2 separate regions of the Homo sapiens genome follow, and region 1 is linked to region 2. Evidence: promoter capture Hi-C in 16 types of primary human blood cells and fetal thymus (Javierre and others, 2016). All regions are on one chromosome and are shown on one strand. The core of a region is centred on a gene start or on the middle of the fragment in contact, and the rest is flanking DNA. Distances in the headings are between cores, read along the strand shown. Region 1 overlaps EEF1A1 (eukaryotic translation elongation factor 1 alpha 1). Region 2 holds the start of UBE3D (ubiquitin protein ligase E3D).

Region 1 (3,471 bases), core at 524-3,023, 9.5 Mb before region 2:
TTCCTTGAGTCACTGCCGAGGCCCTGGCACATCTGAGATTTAAAAGATAAATATCAGATTAACTGGGAAAGATACAGTACAGGCAGATCACTTGAGCCCAGGAGTTGACCAGCCTTGGCAACATGGCAAAATACAAAAATTAGCCAGGCGTGGTGGCAAAAACCTGTGGTCCCTGCTATTCAGGGAAGATCACTTAAGCCCAGAAGTCAGGACTGCAGTTAGCCGTTAACTTCCACTCCAACCAGGGCAGGAGTAAAACCCTGTCTAAACAAAAAAAGCCAAGCACTACCTTGAAATCAACTGAAGTTAGCTCTCACTTTTGAAATCCACTCCAAAATTTGTAACCAATTCCAACATAGTAACTGTTAAAAGAAATGCCACTTCATCTTAAAGCTTAAAATTCATTTATTGTAGTGAGCAAGTTTGTAATGAATACCAGCAGGTGGTGCTCAAGCCACAGTTGTCTAAGACACTGGGTTTCACAGGAAGTTAATCTCAATCTCAGTATATGCAAGTAAACTGACTCATTCCTGCTTCCAGTGGGAACAATTTTTCAGTTAAATCTTGCTTCCTTGCATGTCAAGAATTCTCTACTGGTAAATCTTACAGGTGTCAACTTTCATTATCAGGGCATCTATTGGCCATCTATTAAAGGCCTTACCTGTTTTTTCTGTCATCCAGCAAATCTTAGACTATTTACTTGTGTAAACATTAGATAGCAAAGAAACTAAGGACAAAAATCTCTAGTTCAATTTAGACTTGATACCTCAGAGCACTGGCTGATGGGAAGGCATTTTATCTAATTCAGACTCAGATGAGGGAAAACGATAACACTTCATTACAGACTTGTCTATGGCCAATTCAAGTACCTTTGAATCTTGAGCAATACACATTGCCAGTCACTTTAAGAGGCCTTATCTCTTGGGCTGCTTTAACTCCTGCTTAGCATGTCCTTAAGAACACATGTCCTGGCCAGGCATGGTGGCTCATGCCTGTAATTCCAGCACTTTAGGAGGCCGAGGCGATCACCTAAGGTCAGGAGTTTGAGACCAGCCTGACCAACATGGAAAAACCTCATCTCTATTAAAAACACCAAATTAGCACATGCCTGTAATCCCAGCTACTTGGGAGGCTGAAGTAGGAGAATTGCTTGAACCCAGGAGGAGGAGATTGCAGTGAGATTTTGCCATTGCATTCTAGCCTGGGCAACAAGAACTCCATCTTAAAAAAAATTTTTAAAAACCATCACACAAACAGAAAGCATGTCCTTTAATTTTACCTATCCTTCAAACTTAAGCAAAAATTTTCCTTTTATAACCAAAAAAAAACCTTTAGACACTTTTACATATGGGAGGTCAGGCACAGTGGCTCATGCCTGTAATCCCAGCAGGAAGATCGCGAAAAGCATTTTTCAAATGCACAAATGCTTAAAGATTCAGGAGTAAGTGGGCTATTACACCTGTTAAGCCTATTACCATGTAGTTTCATTCCTAGTGACCAAGTAGACAAACTGCTAATTATCAAAGCATAAAAGGTATTAGACTCTGCAGGAGAAAAGCAATGTAGATTAGTCTAATTTTATAGCTACTTCAAATTGCCATCTTTTTCTATTAGAACCTTGTTCCTATTCTGAATAGCACTCAATAGAACTTGTGAAACCATCAAACTGGCATAAAGCTTACTCCACTGACTTCAAAATGGACCCTTCCACTCATAGGGTGTACACTAGCCACTACACTTATTTCTTATGTCATGGCAAATAGTCAACTTTCACTGCCCAGTCATTTTAACCCACGTTTCAACATGCACATCCCAGTAATTTGGAAACATTTTGTTTCCAAAGATTCACTTAACATTGGTTTAGCAACATGAAGCTTTCTATGCAACACAAGGACTCAGTTTTTGGCCTGTTTTAGTGACAGGCAATCAGCAACATGCTGCATTTCTCTCCAGTGTTGTAATCAAAGCAACCCTCCCATAGCTTTAAATGATATTCCTTCCCCTTCCAATTATGTGGGGGGAAAACAACCCTATTCTCCACCCAGAAGTGTTAACTCAAGAATTACATTTTCAAGAAGTTTCCAGATTCGTAAAACCAGAATTAGATGTCTTTCACCTAAATGTCTCGGTGTTGACCAAAGGAACACACAGGTTTCTCATTTAACTTTTTTAATGGGTCTCAAAATTCTGTGACAAATTTTTGGTCAAGTTGTTTCCATTAAAAAGTACTGATTTTAAAAACTAATAACTTAAAACTGCCACACGCAAAAAAGAAAACCAAAGTGGTCCACAAAACATTCTCCTTTCCTTCTGAAGGTTTTACGATGCATTGTTATCATTAACCAGTCTTTTACTACTAAACTTAAATGGCCAATTGAAACAAACAGTTCTGAGACCGTTCTTCCACCACTGATTAAGAGTGGGGTGGCAGGTATTAGGGATAATATTCATTTAGCCTTCTGAGCTTTCTGGGCAGACTTGGTGACCTTGCCAGCTCCAGCAGCCTTCTTGTCCACTGCTTTGATGACACCCACCGCAACTGTCTGTCTCATATCACGAACAGCAAAGCGACCTATTAAAAAAAAAGTTAATTATTACCCAAAGTACTGTTCAGTTGTATTTTTCATCTTTAACACAACTTTTTTACATTTAAGTAGTCATCCTTACCCAAAGGTGGATAGTCTGAGAAGCTCTCAACACACATGGGCTTGCCAGGAACCATATCAACAATGGCAGCATCACCAGACTTCAAGAATTTAGGGCCATCTTCCAGCTTTTTACCAGAACGGCGATCAATCTTTTCCTTCAGCTCAGCAAACTTGCATGCAATGTGAGCCGTGTGGCAATCCAATACAGGGGCATAGCCGGCGCTTATTTGGCCTGGATGGTTCAGGATAATCACCTTGGAAAAAAGATTTGCATTCAGTGCAAATCCAAAGTCTCAAATGACTTTAGCCTCTGCAATAAGTTAATGTTACTTTAAATTGTTACCTGAGCAGTGAAGCCAGCTGCTTCCATTGGTGGGTCATTTTTGCTGTCACCAGCAACGTTGCCACGACGAACATCCTTGACAGACACATTCTTGACATTGAAGCCCACATTGTCCCCAGGAAGAGCTTCACTCAAAGCTTCATGGTGCATTTCGACAGATTTTACTTCCGTTGTAACGTTGACTGGAGCAAAGGTGACCACCATACCGGGTTTGAGAACACCAGTCTCCACTCGGCCAACAGGAACAGTACCAATACCTAAAAATATTTACAGCATACTAAATACCTATGAAGGCAGACAGTACTCTATCAACTCAAATTCAACTTTGTTTACAGCCAACTTACCACCAATTTTGTAGACATCCTGGAGAGGCAGGCGCAAGGGCTTGTCAGTTGGACGAGTTGGTGGTAGGATGCAGTCCAGAGCCTCAAGCAGCGTGGTTCCACTGGCATTGCCATCCTTACGGGTGACTTTCCATCC
Region 2 (3,497 bases), core at 267-2,766:
TCCATTCTCCTGCCTCAGCCTCCTGAGTAGCTGGGACTGACTAAAGGTGCGCGCCACCACACCCAGCTAATTTTTGTATTTTTAGTAGAGACAGGGTTTCACCATGTTGGCCAGGATGGTCTTGATCTCTTGACCTCGTGATCCGCCCGCCTCAGCCTCCCAATGTGCTGGGATTACAGGCATGAGCCACCCGGGTACCTTGCCTAAACAAAGGAGAGTAGTCCAAGGGAACTGTGAAAGGCCCCTGCATGAGAGGAAGGGAGGGTTTGTTGTGTGTGTGTGGTTTTTGTTTTATTTTGGTAGGGTTTGGGTTCCTAATTACTCTACAAGGTGCACCAGAATTGGAGATATTTGTCCAAATTCATAAATTTTGAAAGAGAAAAAGAAATACATTCAGAGTACTATTATTCCCATTTCAAGATTGAAGAAATTCAGATTAAATTATTCTAATTTCGTGAGGAAGCTAGCATTTGAACTCAGTTCTCACGCCATATTCCAAATTGCCACACCAGATATCTGGCAGATTTAGGGAAGAGGAAAAAATTAAGCATCAATCTACCTGTGGCACCGTGTAATACCATTCTCAGGATTTTAACTTCTAACTTACTCTCTTTGAAACAGCGATCACAAAGGAATAGACAAGGGGACCACAAATCATTAAAACTGCTGTCAAACAAAATAGAGAACATTTTTCCTAAAAGTTATTTGTGTAGCGAATAACAAGTTTGACGTTCTCACTGGAAGGAAGAATATGAATAAATGAACGAGCTCCAGTAAGAAGTCTACAACCTGTCTTAGTGGTTCACTAAACTCACGTTTATTGAATGATTGTGTGGTTTCTCTGCAAAGAGCAGTTTTGGACGAAAAGACCCGAGGTTATTTACAAAACAAGAAGCTCACATAGGAACTGATCCAGTAAGGAGGATCCCGAAGAGAGACAGACAAATCATTTTTTGCATTGTTTTGTTGGAAACGCCGGGCACTGCCAACAGTGTTTTACATCACTGTTCCTCAAATTTTAATGTGCATTTGATTCCTGGAAATCTTGTTAAAATATAAGTTTTGATTCCATAAGTCTGGTGTGGAGCTGAGACCCTGAATTTCTAAAAAGCTCCCCAAAGATACCCACACTGTCAGTAGGGGTGGGAGTGGCGGAGCCGACTACAGGGGAAAGCTTCACTTTGAGTGATCGAGAGGCTCTACGCAACTGGAAAGAAGAAACTCAAAATCCCTCGTACAGAGAGAGACTCACCAGCCCCCGACCCCCGGGCAGCAGTAAAGCGAGCTGGGCACTGCGCCTAGAATCCCAGTTCTTACCCCAGGATCAGAAGCGCGCTCTGCAGCTGTCCCCGCACCTCCAGAAACACGCGCGTCTCCGCCGCAGAAGCCGCCATGGCAGGCTTCCAGTCCCAGACCGGACCAAGCTGGAGGTTCCGAGGGGCCCGGGTCAACAGGACCAGGAGAGGTTCCACGTGCGGACCAACCAGCGGCAGCCCCGCTGCGGCGCAGGCGCCTGTGCCAGATCGCAGGGCTGGCGCCGCCTACCAGCTCACAGCGCCACCTGCCGGCCGGAGAGTGCACCACCGAGAAGGCGCGTGACCCCGGAGGCCGGGGCGGGGCGCGCATTTTCAAAACCAGGCTTTGGCCCAGAGTGCTGAGAAAGGTGGGCGGCGAGAGGCTAGCTATCGCCCCACTCTGCTTCTTATGAGCGTGACTTGGCGCGTTAGCATCCCTGGAAATGACCATAAAAATCAGACCCAGGGTTCACACCTTTGGCTAGCTCGAAGGGAGGGAGATGATGGAGGCAAGTGTTACAGGTGGGCTTTGTCCCCAGGAGATGCAAGAACAGAATTCCCGGCCCCAAACCCACTTTATCTTGGTCTCTTTATGAACAAGGGTCGTTTGTTAGCCTCTATCTAAAGCGACAAAATTTTCAAGAATTGACTTGCCATTGCTTCTCAACTTAGACAGGATAGCTCCAAAATTGAAACAGGTGCAAAAATATAAGGAAGTTCTTTGTTACCTAATGCAGAAGAGTGTGGCTGAAGTCTATCAGGACTAACCATTTTTTAGGGGGTAAAAAAGGAAGATGAGAATGATTACGTATGTACAGCTCCACTATTCACTTTCACAAAAGTAAAAACTAAGAGAAGTTGGAGAAGTTTACTACCAGAAGATAGTTTTGAAAAGTTTGACACAGTAAAGAACCTGGTATAATGTAAATACTTATAATGAAGAACTATTAAAATATAAGACCGGGTAGAATTACAATAGGGCTTCTTAAAAACAAGGAGCTGCTTTTATTTATTTATTTTTTTTCGGAGTCTCGCTCTGTCGCCAAGGCTGGAGTGCAGTGGCGCGATCTCGGCTCACTGCAACCTCTGCCTCCTGGGTTCAAGCGATTCTCCTGCTTCAGCCTCCCGAGTAGCTGGGATTACAGGCGCACGCGCCACCATGCCCGGCTAATTTTTCTGTTTTTGGTAGATCCGCCCACCTTGGCCTCCCAAAGTGCTGAGATTACAGGTGTGAGCCACCATGCCCAGCCTAAACCATAAATAAATTCTAAATAAATAAATCCTGTCATATATTTTAAGATAATAGCTTGACAATTTTTCTAAAATCAGTATTTGGGGTGATTAAAGTTTATTATGTTGATGCACAAATTATTATATCTATCACAATAATTTGAAGTTATAGATGGAAGCAACAACTCACTTAAAAAAATAAAGTTTACTATTATTTGGTCTCAAATAATTCATCTATTTGAAGGATGATGATTTCAACTCTTCATATCTTCCACCTTTAGTACCCGAGGCTATTGAATGCTTAAATATTGACACATTATATTGAAATATACAACTTCCGTAGCACAACTTACTCTTTATAATTGTTTTGTTAGCTTAAAAGATTTTTATATATTTAGTTACGTATTTGTAAAAACTTTCATTTTTTTACGGTATGGTGTTGGCAAAACGGTGCAATTTACCTTGGAGTAACTAGATATGATTGATAGAGCTCTAGACTCAAAATAGTTCCAAATCTGACACCAACTACTTGTCTCCTAACTTCACAAGTCTCCTAACCTCTCTGGGATGCAGGTTACTCATATGAAATATTGAGAAACTATTCAAATAATATTTAAAAGCTGTTTTCAGTTCCTATTATCTCTTCAAATGAAAACATCTGCTAACCCCCTTTCTAGCCACTCCTGAAATTGGTAGCCATGGCCGCTTCCCGCGACAGTCCACTTGAGGGCGCTGTGGCAACAGCTAGCGCCGGGAGGCAGGAAGCCGATCGGGGGCGGGGATCGAAGGCCTCAGACGTCGACGCCGGCGTGGGCGCGAGCACGGTGCACTCTGGGAGCTGTCACTAGGCCCTTCGGCTCCCGGTCTCGGTGTAGCTGCCGTGGTTGCCAGGAGAGCTGCGCCGGCGAGAAGCGGCCGAGCCAGCAGCAGGTAAAAGCGTCCCTGCCCCCAGTGCGGCCGCTAGGCTGGTAG

What was found. The method cuts DNA at HindIII sites, captures the fragments that hold promoters and counts their contacts. A CHiCAGO score of 5 or more calls a contact.
Region 1: a contact is called between a fragment that was not itself captured here and the fragment with the promoter of UBE3D in region 2, in 1 of 17 cell types (total CD4 T cells). The highest score is 6.1, in total CD4 T cells.

The regions. Positions count from the first base shown.
Region 1 is chr6:73,515,363-73,518,833 of GRCh38, forward strand. EEF1A1 (eukaryotic translation elongation factor 1 alpha 1) reads right to left here. Exons shown (of 8, transcript NM_001402.6): 5 at 3,336-3,471; 6 at 2,992-3,248; 7 at 2,668-2,902; 8 at 388-2,572. The coding sequence ends at 2,448. Among named protein-coding and RNA genes, the nearest start is that of EEF1A1, 3.9 kb to the right of the region's middle. RefSeq lists a silencer at 1-258. The HindIII fragment of the contact is 197 bases long and covers 1,676-1,872 here.
Region 2 is chr6:83,064,325-83,067,821 of GRCh38, forward strand. UBE3D (ubiquitin protein ligase E3D) reads right to left here and starts at 1,517. Exons shown (of 10, transcript NM_198920.3): 1 at 1,318-1,517. The coding sequence starts at 1,394. DOP1A (DOP1 leucine zipper like protein A) reads left to right here and starts at 3,347. Exons shown (of 39, transcript NM_015018.4): 1 at 3,347-3,455. RefSeq lists enhancers at 3,156-3,225, 3,256-3,405. The HindIII fragment of the contact is 10,412 bases long and covers 1,173-3,497 here.